2 separate regions of the Homo sapiens genome follow, and region 1 is linked to region 2. The links are contacts of gene promoters, found by promoter capture Hi-C in human tissues and cell types (Jung and others, 2019). All regions are on one chromosome and are shown on one strand. The core of a region is centred on a gene start or on the middle of the fragment in contact, and the rest is flanking DNA. Distances in the headings are between cores, read along the strand shown. Region 1 overlaps IGFN1 (immunoglobulin like and fibronectin type III domain containing 1). Region 2 holds the start of IGFN1 (immunoglobulin like and fibronectin type III domain containing 1).

What was found. The method cuts DNA at HindIII sites, captures the fragments that hold promoters and counts their contacts. A contact is called where the count stands out against the background at its distance.
Region 1: a fragment that was not itself captured here is called in contact with the fragment with the promoter of IGFN1 in region 2 in 1 of the 25 tissues and cell types used here (psoas muscle).

Annotation. Positions count from the first base shown.
Region 1 is chr1:201,226,742-201,232,852 of GRCh38, reverse strand. It overlaps IGFN1 (immunoglobulin like and fibronectin type III domain containing 1), which reads right to left. Exons shown (of 24, transcript NM_001164586.2): 23 at 5,645-5,971; 24 at 3,901-4,467. The coding sequence ends at 4,454. Among named protein-coding and RNA genes, the nearest start is that of IGFN1, 39 kb to the right of the region's middle. The HindIII fragment of the contact is 5,710 bases long and covers 396-6,105 here.
Region 2 is chr1:201,186,365-201,192,249 of GRCh38, reverse strand. IGFN1 (immunoglobulin like and fibronectin type III domain containing 1) reads right to left here and starts at 1,426. Exons shown (of 24, transcript NM_001164586.2): 1 at 1,343-1,426. The HindIII fragment of the contact is 14,085 bases long and covers 1-5,885 here.

The sequences.
Region 1 (6,111 bases), core at 2,001-4,500, 39 kb before region 2:
ACATACGTATGCATATGTGTTTATAGTAGCATGATTTATAATCCTTTGGGTATATACCCAGTAATGGGATCGCTGGGTCAAATGGTATTTCTAGTTCTAGATCCTTGAGGAATAACCACACTGTCTTCCACAATGGTTGAACTCCCACCCACCAACCAACAGTGTAATTTACACTCCCACCAACAGTGTAAAAGTGTTCCTATTTCTCCACATCCTCTCCTGCATCTGTTGTTTCCTGATTTTTTAATGATCGCCACTCTAACTGGTATGAGATGGTATCTCATTGTGGTTTTGATTTGCATTTCTCTGATGACCAGAGATGATGAGCATTTTTCCACGTGTTTGTTGGCTACCTAAATGTCTTCTTTTGAGAAGTGTCTGTTCATATCCTTTGCCCACTTTTTGATGGGCTTGTTTGTTTTTTTCTTGTAAACTTGTTTAAGTTCCTTTTAAATTCTGGATATTAGCCCTTTGTCAGATGGGTAGATTGCAAACATTTTCTCCCATTATATAGGTTGCCTGTTCACTCTGATGGTAGTTTCTTTTGCTGTGCAGAAGCTCTTTAGTTTAAGTAGATCCCATTTGTCTGTTTTGGCTTTTGTTGCCATTGCTTTTGGTGTTTTAGTCATGAAATCTTTGCCCATGCCTATGTCCTGAATGATATTGCCTAGGTTTTCTTCTAGGGTTTTTATGGTTTTAGGTCTAACATTTAAGTCTTTAATCCATCTTGAATTAATTTTTGTATAAGGTGTAAGGAAGGGATCCAGTTTCAGCTTTCTACATATGGCTAGCCAGTTTTTCCAGCACCATTTATTAAATAGGGAATCTTTTTGCCATTTCTTGTTTTTCTCAGGTTTGTCAAAGATCAGATGGTTTTAGATGTGTGGTGCTATTTCTGAGGCCTCCGTTCTGTTCCATTGGTCTATATCTCTGTTTTGGTACCAGTACCATGCTGTTTTGGTTACTGTAGCCTTGTAGTATAGTTTGAAGTCAGGTAGCATGACACTTCCAGCTTTGTTCTTTTTGCTTAGGATTGTGGATATGTGGGCTCTTTTTTGGTTCCATATGAACTTTAAAGTAGTTTTTTCCAATTCTGTGAAGAAAGTCATTGGTAGCTTGATGGAGATGGCATTGAATTTATAAATTACTTTGGGCAGTATGGCCATTTTCACAATACTGATTCTTCCTATCCATGAGCATGGAGTGTTTTTCCACTTGTTTGTGTCCTCTTTTATTTCATTGAGCAGTGGTTTGTAGTTCTCCTTGAAGAGGTCCTTCATATCCCTTGTAAGTTGGATTCCTAGGTATTTTATTCTCTTTGTAGCAATTGTGAATGGGAGTTCACTCATGATTTGGCTCTCTGTTTTTCTGTTATTGGTGTATAGGAATGCTTGTGATTTTTGTACATTGGTTTTGTATCCTGAGACTTTGCTGAAGTTGCTTATCAGCTTGAGATTTCGGGCTGAACCAATGGGGTTTTCTAGATATACAATCATGTCATCTGCAAACAGGGACAATTTGACTTCCTCTTTTCCTAATTGAATACCCTTTATTTCTTTCTCTTGCCTGATTGCCCTGGCCAGAACTTCCAACACTATGTTGAATAGGAGTGGTGAGAGAGGGCATCCTTGTCTTGTGCCAGTTTTCAAAGGGAATGCTTCCAGTTTTTGCCCATTCAGTATGATATTGGCTGTGGGTTTGTCACAAATAGCTCTTATTATTTTGAGATACGCTCAGATTCTATACTTGACTGGCAGGGACTTTTTTTGGCTTTGTGTGGAAATGAATGAAAATGCCATGACCATTCCTTTTGTCTTCATATCCCACCCCAGTTACAGAAGTATGCTAGCCCCTCCCAGGGACACCTAACTTGGCCTGCCCCAGGATATTGGCACTCTGCTGTCCACTGCCAAAAGAGACAACTGCTTTCCACTGTCCCAGGCCTCCAAGGGCAGGAACTCCACCTCCATCGTGGTTGGCGCCCAGAGCACACATGCACCTGTAAATTTGGTCCTAGAATGTTTCCCTTTGGCATTAGACCAAAGGGCTGTGATAGCTACATAGGTCACCCTGAATTGTCTAATCTGAACCATTTGCCAGCCCTCGAACCCAATTTGTGCTTCCCTACCTCCTTGCCTTTGCTCATGGTGTTCTCCACCGTGATACACCCTTGCCCATTCCTGCCTGTCCAGTTGCTACTTTTCCCTCAAGCATGTTACCACTTTACGAAGCCCTCCTTGAGGTTCTCAGTCTGCAGCATCTCTCCTCCTCTGAACTCCTCTAGACTTTATTGGTGCCTTTCTTAGAATATGCATCACAGGCTACCTTGGATTATGGCTCTTGGTATTCAAGTCTTGCGTCCCTGCCATGGATCCCTTGGCTATAGGACTCATATCTGAGTCATCTTCATCTCCGCCTCCACAGTGCCTGATCCAGGCTCATAAAAAAAAAATGAAGGTGTCTTATGAAGCCATCATGAGTTATAGTCTTTTGTCCTTATATTGCCTCAATAGGTCAGTCCCCTGTAGCCCACCCTTAGAGGTACAGAAAGGTCTCTCTTCTCATCCTCAATATGAGTGTCTGCTCAGAGCTAGGCATGCCACAGGCACTGGGTCACCCCCTCTGTGCAAACGACCTCTTCTCTGCATTTCTGAAACCACAGACTATTGGCCTGAGGCCCTGCCCTCCTTCAACTCCAGGACCGTGCAGCATGGAAAGAACTCATGAGAACTGCCCCACACAGGCTGAGGTGTCCAGCCACTGCCTCTCAGTTTCTAAGAACTTCCTTCTTTTCCTATGGCCATGGTGTTGGCCTGCTGTGTTAGCAAGGTAGAGATAACAAGAGAAATTCCAAGGAAAACAGCTCATGCAGGTTTCTTTGGTAGGGGAAGGAATGAGCTATAAAAGGTTGTCTGGTGTGTGTCCCTGCCTCTGGGGGACACTCTTGGTCTATTTTAGGTGAACAGTTCTCTCTCCGGTTCAGAGAACCTTCCCTTGGTCACATATTCTCACTCTTCAGAAACAGATTTTTGGCATTAACCCTTCCTCCTGTGATTCACCCTCCTTCCTTCATGCATCTGACCTGCAGTTAGTGGCAAAGGGAGGCTGAGGGAAGCAGAAGCCAGGATCTGAGCAGAGGGAGTGAAGGGCAGACAGTGTTCTAGCTCATCGGGTCACCTGCTGGGCCTCAGAGCTGATGCCCTGGGAGAGAGTGGGGTTCAGCCTTCCCCGGGGCTCCTTCCTTTCTTTTGGCTCCTGGAAACTCTGGAATATTTCCTGGGAGCCTGAGAGTTTGGGGGCCATGCCTTGAGGATAATGGAGTGCAAGAGTTCTGGGGGCAGTGGTGGGGTGACCCACCTGGGAAAGGGAGGCATCCCATCCCTCCTGTGACATGGGGCAGTGGGGACTGTGAAGAAGGTGAGGAGGCCTCATGCAGCCTTGAGTGAGAGTCACCCTCATGCACTTGAGAGCCTCTTTCTTCCCCTTCTGACAGGGGCATAGATCCTGGAGTAGGATTCTCCCCAACTCAGACTCTTTCTGGTCCCGGGGAGTGACGGACATAGGCCAACCCTAGGCAACCCCAGCCCTGTGGTCCCCACACACGTAACACCTGGGGAGGCCTCCAGCCCTGCTGCTCACAGGATTTCTGCCAGTCAGAAGAGTGCAGGAAACAAAGGCCAGGAGGAAGAGAAGCCTCTCCATTACCCTCTAACCCTTCTTGGCTTTCTCGCCCTTGCAATCAACTATGTAGGCCTGGGCTGCAGGAGAAGAGTCCAGTTCTGAGCCCGTTCTTCCTCTATCCAGAACCCACCCATCCTCCCAACTGAAGCCTGGAATAAAGGCTCCGCTTTGGAAATCTTTCCTCCAACACACCCACCCCAAGTAAATTTGCCAATGATCTGCCTGTATTAGCCTAATGTTTTAATGAAGAAACGCATAGAAAGCACTTGCTGCACCCCTGGAATCTCTTGAATCCAGGAGGTGGAGGCTGCCCCCACCCACACACACGACCTTGATGCCCTAGTCCTCACCCAGGTCCTCTGACCTCCTCTCCTCTTCCCTCCCAGTGGTCACAGCAGGCCCAGCTGTGCCCACCCTCCCTCCAAACGGCTCAGCCCAGGAAAATAAGGAGCCGGCCCATCCTGCAGGCAGGTGCCCTCTGGATCTCCTGAAGCGAAGAAGAAAGAAACCCATATGGTGAGGGTCCAGGAGGTTCGCTGTCATTCTGTTGAGTGACTTAGCTTGGAGCCAGGAGGTGGAATGCCCTCCTCCCTTGTTTTTCTTCCCCAAGGACTTCACGTCCTCCTGGCCAAAACCTCGCCAGGCATCTTCTCACTCCCATTTTCCTGGGGCTCTGGGCACAGCCTCCATCCTTGGGATTGGCTTCCCGGGCCAGTGCAGGTGTCGGAAGTGAAGCTTCAAGGGTCCAGGACCATCCCAGGGTGAGGTGAGGCTAGGTGCTGGGTTCTGCAAGACACAGGATATTCCAGTTGGTTCAGAGGGGCAGCCACCCCACCCTGCATCTGTTCAGTGGTGAAGAAAACTCAGAATGGGGCTTAGACTACAGGCTCTGCCATCAGGGGGTGTGGGTTCAAATCTGGAGCCACCACGTGCTCTCTAAGCTTGGGCAAAGCCCTTTGCTGGCCCCTCGGGGAACCATAATCACCCCCAATGCCATCTTCGTTCCGGGACTACATGTGTACACAAGCTGGGGTGTTTCGAGAGTGGCTTCCTAAATGCCTAAGCACAGGTGCTACAGAGAGGAGAGATGCTCTGCTCCAGTGCAAAGGGGCCGTTTTTCCACAAAGGTCAATTGAGGCTTGCCTTTTATTGCTATTCAAAATATAAGGTGTTTTAAGTACTATCGAAGGAAAAACCTTTATTAACATATATATCTGTGCTACTGAAAAGGAGACTACCAATGAGAGAATCAGCATGGCTTTCTAGGCACTAAGTGTTCATATCTTGACATACTTAAGAAACAGCAATACGGATGCCTGTTCATCTCTCAGCCTGCAATGTGTAGCGTGGCCCCACTGGGAAGCTTAGGTGAGCAGTACACAGCCCTTCAATCAAGAGTTGCTCACCAAGTTCAAATACCTCATTTTAAAAGTGGGCAAATCTGCCGGGCACAGTGGCTCACACCTGTAATCCTAGCTCTTTGGGAGGCCGAGGCGGGTGGATCACCTGAGGTCAGGAGTTTGAGACCAGTCTGGCCAATATGATGAAACCCCCCTTCTATTAAAAATACAAAAAAATCCGCCAGGTGTGGTGGCGGATGCCTGTAATCCCAGCTATTCAGGAGGCTGAGGCAGGAGAATCTCTTGAATCCAGGAGGTGGAGGCTGCAGTGAGCCGAGATCATGCCATTGCACTCCAACCTGGGCAACAAGAGCGAAACTCCGTCTCAAAAAAAAAAAAACTAAAAATAAAAATAAATTTTTTAAAAAGTGGGCAAATAAAGACCACATGTGGGCCGGTGTTGGTAGGTTAAATAGCTGAAAGTTCATAGAGTCAGGCAGAGAGTCCTGGTCTCCTGACTCCCGGCTGAATCCCTCTAGGCACCCCCCGGAGCCTCCCTGACAGGCAGGTGGTTGCTCTCCTGGCTCTCCTTCCTGCCCCACTGCCAGGGCAGCCACCATTACCTATGACAATGAGGGTGGCAGTGCTGACTGCCTGGCCCAGCGTGTTCTCAGCCACAGCCTTGTACTCCCCGCTGTCCTTCGGGGATACGCTGGGGATGGTGAGGGAGCACACGCCCAGCAGGTCAGTGCTGTACACCGCGGGGTTTCCTTCCAGGCTGCGGTCATTCTTGAACCAGGTGACGTGGGGCCGGGGCGAGCCCTGCACGGCACAGCTCATGCAGCACTCGCAGCCCTGGGGCAGCAGGTGGGACCGCAGGCCCACCAGGAACCGGGGCTTCTGGCTCAGGTCGGGCTCCCGGTAGCACGGAGCCTTCACTGTGAACCTGTCTGTGGTGAAAGCCGGGGTGAGAGAAGAGGGTGAGAAAGCGAGGAAGGCCTGGCTGAGACCCGGGTCTGGGTAAAGAGTTCATGAAGCTACCATGTAGGCCTTATCTGGGATTTCCTGCCACATCTTGCCTGCAAATTTG
Region 2 (5,885 bases), core at 177-2,676:
CTCTCCCATGGAGATCATTCCATTTCGCAACGGCCACCCACTGGCACTTCTGACCCCTGGCAGCCCCTCGCCAGCCCAGCCGCTGCACCCTAGCGTGCTGGAATGCCATGGTACGCCAACTGCGTTCTGGAGTGGTCACGGGTGCCACAGGCACTACGCCGAAGGGAGTCACGAGGAAGGGTGGGAGGGAAGGCAGCCACCAACGGATGAGGACCCAGCTGGACACGGCCAGGGGGAGGGCTGCAAGGGCCCCCATCCCACCCACCCCTCAGTGCAGCCTCCTGGTAGATGCAAGTGCACTGGTGCCAGTCGGTGACCCCCACACTGGAGTAGTTTGAGTTCAACACAGCTATCTGAGTCATCATCCCCATCGTCACCCACATCATCACCACGAGCAGCTATCATCCTGTTACTCAGCTATTGGTCACACATGAAGAAGGATGACGCTGATACCACTCTTCTCCCTCCAGCCTCCTGCCTACAGCTCCCAGCAGAGGAGGGCAAAAGAAGCAAAGCTCTTGGGGGAACTTAGGGATGTGACGTTAAGCATCCACTTCTGGAGCTCCACTCTCTTTTAGAATAAGCCAGATTTGGTACAAAGTCAATGACACAGGGAAAGAGATCTGTTGGATTGGAGACTAGAGGGATGTAGTCTCAGTTGGAAGGGATGAGAAAGGAAATGAATTCTCTCCTCCATAATTCATTCCCACATTTGAGAAGAACTCCAGTTCTTCCCAGAAGGAAACAGCAGTTTGTGTCCTCACTTCAGCTGTCCCAACAACACTCTCAGCACTGGATCCTGGGACAGTCCCTCCCTGCCCCCTCTCCAGGACCTATGGCTCCCCATCCTTTTTCCCTACCCTCCCCGGATCCATCCTGCACATCCAGGTCCCTGCTACCTCCAGTTGGTCCCTGCTACCTCTCAACTGGTAGAAATTGAGGCAGGAAGAGCCAAATGGAGTTCTCTCAACTGCTTTGACCATGATACTAACCAAAATATAACAAGTCCCAGCCCGAGGTCCTTATTCTGGACTGCTAGTGATATTTTTAATCTGGTCATCGTATCACACCCAAAGTCAAGCCGTGTCCAGAAAATTAGAGCCAGGACAGAAATGCCCAGACAGGACACACTGAAATTCTCTCCTCCAGATATCCTGGAGTAACCTAGAGGGGATACAGGTGCACCCCAGCGTGTGATCCGCCAGCCAGGGAATGTTCCCCAGGCAGACATCCTGCCCACTGCCTGCCCCTTCCTGCGTAGAAAAGCTGGACAGCAGGCTAGTGTCTCCATCCTGGCCCTACCCTGGCCCGGGTGGGCAGCCAGGTGTGAGCACCCACTTACCTGGGTGTACAGCTGACCTCCCGCTTCCTGTCTGCTCCCTCTTCCCCGTTTCCAGCTGCTGCTTGCTGAGGCTCTGGATTGACTGGTAGTGGACAGGCAGGGCTGGAGCAGGTGTCGGTTGCTGCAGGCGCCTCTGCTCCCTCTGCCCCTCCCACTCACCCCGCCTCCTCCTTCTCCTCCAGTCCAGGCTTGGCAGGGCAAGGCCCCCAGGGCTAACATTCTAGCTCAGAGGAGGTCAGAGATGGAAGGGTCCTGTGACATCAGTCCATCCAACTCCTCGCTTTGCAGAGCTTTAAGCTCTTAACCAGACTGGCTTAGTGTAAATTTGCCCCATGAAGCCTCATTTATACGACCCTTTTTAGCAAGGACATTTTCATCATCCAAACCCTTAACTTTTCAGCTAAGCTGGTCCCTTGGGACCTTTGACACCATAAGTCACACAGATACATAAGCCACTGCCCTCTTGGGAATCACACCTCCAAGTGGTATCAAACAGGCAGCAAACTTTGGGAGTGGGAGGGAAGGCAGCCATTAACGGAGTCACAGACACAGAGTCCACCGAGAGTGACCAGGAAGGAGGAGACCCTGGGAACTGTGTAGTCAGCAGGCCTGCTGGAGAAGGTGAGCTTGCTCAGGAGCTTTTCAAGGAACAGAAGGGGTGACCTGACCAGCAGGGTTGGGGGCGAAGTCGGCAGGGCAGATGGTTGGGTTTTTGGTCGGACAGATGGATGGCAAGTGGAAATTGGAAATACAATGGCTGGTAACAGATTTTCTTAAGGAGAGTGGAGGGCAGGTGAGGCCCAGGAGATAAGGCCACCTGGTGTGCTTTGAAAGAGCCACCTTCTCTCTCCTTAAGGACAGAGAACTGCTTTGTTGCCACCCATAAGCGAGGCTTGATTGAGGATTCAGGTGAAGTAGAAGGGAAATGGGGTGAATGTTTGCATCCAGGGGAGGACACTGAATATTTACATGTGTTGATTAGCATCTTGCCAATTTCTACAGGCGCTACCTCTGGATGTGCTCCGAGAGGGGAGGTGTTTGACCTCTTCTGCGCAAGTACGTGTATGTGTGTGCATGCATGCACACACACATACATTTGTGTGTCCTCCCTGTGTGTTTCTGAGTGTCAGGGCTGGTCTTTCATTTGTTCAACAAACATGTGTTGAACACCTACCGTGGGTTGAGCCCTGGCTCTGGCACTGTGTTAAGCCCTAGGAATACAAAGGTAAGCAAGTGACAGGGCCCTCCCATCATGAAGTTCACAGTCTAATGGGGCAGGTAGATGTAGGGGCTCCAAAGGAGACAATGGAGAGTGTGAGGGGAGGGCTGGACCTTGGAGAGCAAGGGAAAGAGTGGCAGTGAGAGTTGAGTTTGGACAGGTAGGCTTTGGGGGCCATTGAAGAGTTTTGATCTCTATTGTAAAGGTTACTGAGGTTTGTTTAAGCTGGAGGGGTGACAGGATCCAATCTGCATTTTAGAAGAACTCATTCTGGCTGCAGAAATGGAAGGGATTGGAGGAAGGAGAAAGTGAGAGGCAGGAGTCTACCTCCCAGGAGTGCAGTCCCAGGAGAACACCCTAGGGTGTTCTTTCTCATGGTGGGGCCCTGAGCTCCAGGGGCCTCCTGAGCCACAATGCTGCATCATTCCAGGAGGGGGAAGGAGGAGGCTGCATCATTCCAGGAGGGGGAAGGAGGAGGCTGTGAACATGGCCCAATGCAGAGCCTTTAGCATTTCACGTGCCTCTGTTGCCCCCCTAGACAGCCCATGTGCTCTTCCCTGGGGCCTGGGGATGGCCTGCAGATCCACGAGTCAAGGTGTGCCCTGCTAACTGGCCTCCATTTTCCATGATGTTGTTGTTGTTTCCTAAACAGAGATGAGATCTTGCCATGTTGCCCAGGCTGGTCTCAAACTCCTGGGCTCAAGTGATCCTCCCATGCCGGCCTCCCAAAGTGCTGGAATGGCAAGCATGAGCCACTACACTCACCCCATTTTCCATGTTTTAACAGCAGCCCACATTAGGGGACCTACTCCTCTCTGCGCTGTGTCATACATGGATCCCTATCGTTGCAATAAAATGGAAATTTCGGGACTCCAAGGAACTGAGAATGAGTTACACAGTTTTTACCACTCTCCCCACTTTATCCTCTATCAAATGTAGTGTCCAGTAATATTTAGCTATGTCTGGATCGCCAGCCATCCACCACCACTTCCCAGGGTATAATCTTATTACACCTCCTGATAGACTTTTCCTTTGGGAGATAAAGAGACAAGTCCTGGCCGGGCACAGTGGCTCATGCCTGTAATCCCACCACTTTGGGAGGCTGAGGCGGGCAGATCACAAGGTCAGGAGATTGAGACCATCCTGGCCAACATGGTGAAACCCCGTCTCTACTAAAGATACAAAAATTAGCTGGCTGTGGTGGCATATGCCTGTAGTCCCAGCTACTTGGGAGGTGAGGCAGGAGAATCGCTTGAACCCGGGAGGCGGAGGTTGCAGTGAGCTGAGATCGCATCACTGCACTCCAGCCTGGTGACAGAGTGGGACTCCGTTTCAAAAAAAAAAAAAAAAAAGACACAAGACCTTACCTTCATCGATTAGGGGAATATCCATGTCAAAAGAACTCTGGGCAGTGAATTTGTGTGCATTATTCATTGTTCCTCAGTGCCTTATGGAAAGGGCTCAGGGACTTTGGGTAGGGATAGGTTCAGAATTCATTAATGCTCTCCTGTCCCCACAAGAACGAAATGCATTATATGGCAGGTACCAAGAGGCTCAGGCCCCATAAAGGCCTCTCTTGGGACCCTTTTACTCCTGATGGCATGGGTCAGATGAGATGATCTCTGAGATCCTGGCCAATTTGAACCTTCCACAGTCCTGTGACTGAATGGGGAAGGCCATGTGGACTTGAAAAGCAGTCCATGTGACTCAGGAGAGAGTTTAAATTCATTCACAGGCGTTCATTGCCTCTATGCTTGGTGTAAAACTGGTTCTGTCCCAGCTGGGTGAGTCACTGAGGGTGCTGTCCAGGGGAGGGTGTCCTCTCTTGCACCCAATGGGGTCCATGTAGATGGGTTAGCAGAGGAAGATTCTAATCAAAGACATGCAAACATGCTCACACACAAACATACACATACACCACACAACACCAACAGAGCAGGTCTTTGTGAAAGGTAGAAGACTATGAGCTGCCCTGTGGAGATGTCTTCAGAGACTAGGGGCCTTCTCTAAGCCTGGAGCTAGGGCATAAGATTCTATTTCAACCACAGTCCCTACCCAGGAAGATGGAGCTGGGAGGACCAGTGGACAAACAACACCCCTCCTGTGCTTCCTTCCATCCTCCTTGGCCACGGTCAAGGATGCCCTCCAGTCCACCTGCTCCCTTGAACCATCCACTCTGCCCCCCAGCTGCCTGCCTAGCCGATATTCCTCCCTATCTCCAGTCCAGCCCATGTGTCAGCCTTAGTTCATGTCTTTCTCACCTCACCTGCAGTGTAATGAATCCCATGTAGCCTCATGGGAAAGAAGACCTTGGAGACCCCAAGGGTAATTTCATGTTTGCAAAGCTGGCTTTCAGTGACAGAGAAACTTGAGTCAGGAGCCAATCCCTAATCTGGAAGGGCCTAGTCCAGCAGGCTCAGCTGGCGCAAGGGCTACAGGAGGGGGTCCTTTGGACCCTCAATGAGGAGAAGCTGGGGAGGAAATCCCACTCCACTTTCCAGGAATGGCTGAGCCACAACAGGCTTCAGTCTATTGAGGCAGTGTAGACTCTCACAGAATGTCAGAGCCAGACAGGACCATTGAGGGCATCTAACAACAGCAATAACATTATAGCAGTAACAACAGTATTTAACCCTGATAGAGTTCTTGCTACATGCCAGATATTCTTTTGAATCTTTAGTTATGTTAACTCATTTAATCCCTCACAACAAATCCAAAAGGCAGAATTGATCACTAACCCCATTTTACAGAAGGGGAAACTGAGATACAGAGACATTATGTAACTTGCCCAAGGTCACACAGCTAGTGAGTGGCAGAGCCAGGATGTGGACCAAGGCCATCCAGTGCCAAGTCTACACTCTTAACGACCAATGTCCTGTGGATCCAATCCAACTCGCTTCTTTTCAGATATGGACACTGGGGCTTGGAGAGAAGTGGTTTCCTCCTGGAAGGCACACAGTGAAGTGTTTTGCAGCCAGATTCGCCTCCTCGTGGGAATGAAGCACCAAACCCCAAGTCATTCCAGAAAGCTGCTCCCTTCAAATCTCCATCAGGTGGTGAGGAGGTAAATAAACCACTCCAGCTAAACAGATGCAAACCCACTCAGGTTTCTAATGTTGCATTGTCGTTTTGCAGGGACACTTGCCTATTTTCATATAATCAGGCAAATCACAGTACTCACAGGCCCCCAACCTACTGTGTGATGTTTTCTACATGGGTTATTTCATTTAGCCCACATAACACCCTATGACGTAGAAACATATCTCCATTTTACAGAGAAGGAAGTTAAAGCTAAGAGCAACTATAATGTTTCCACTGTTACAC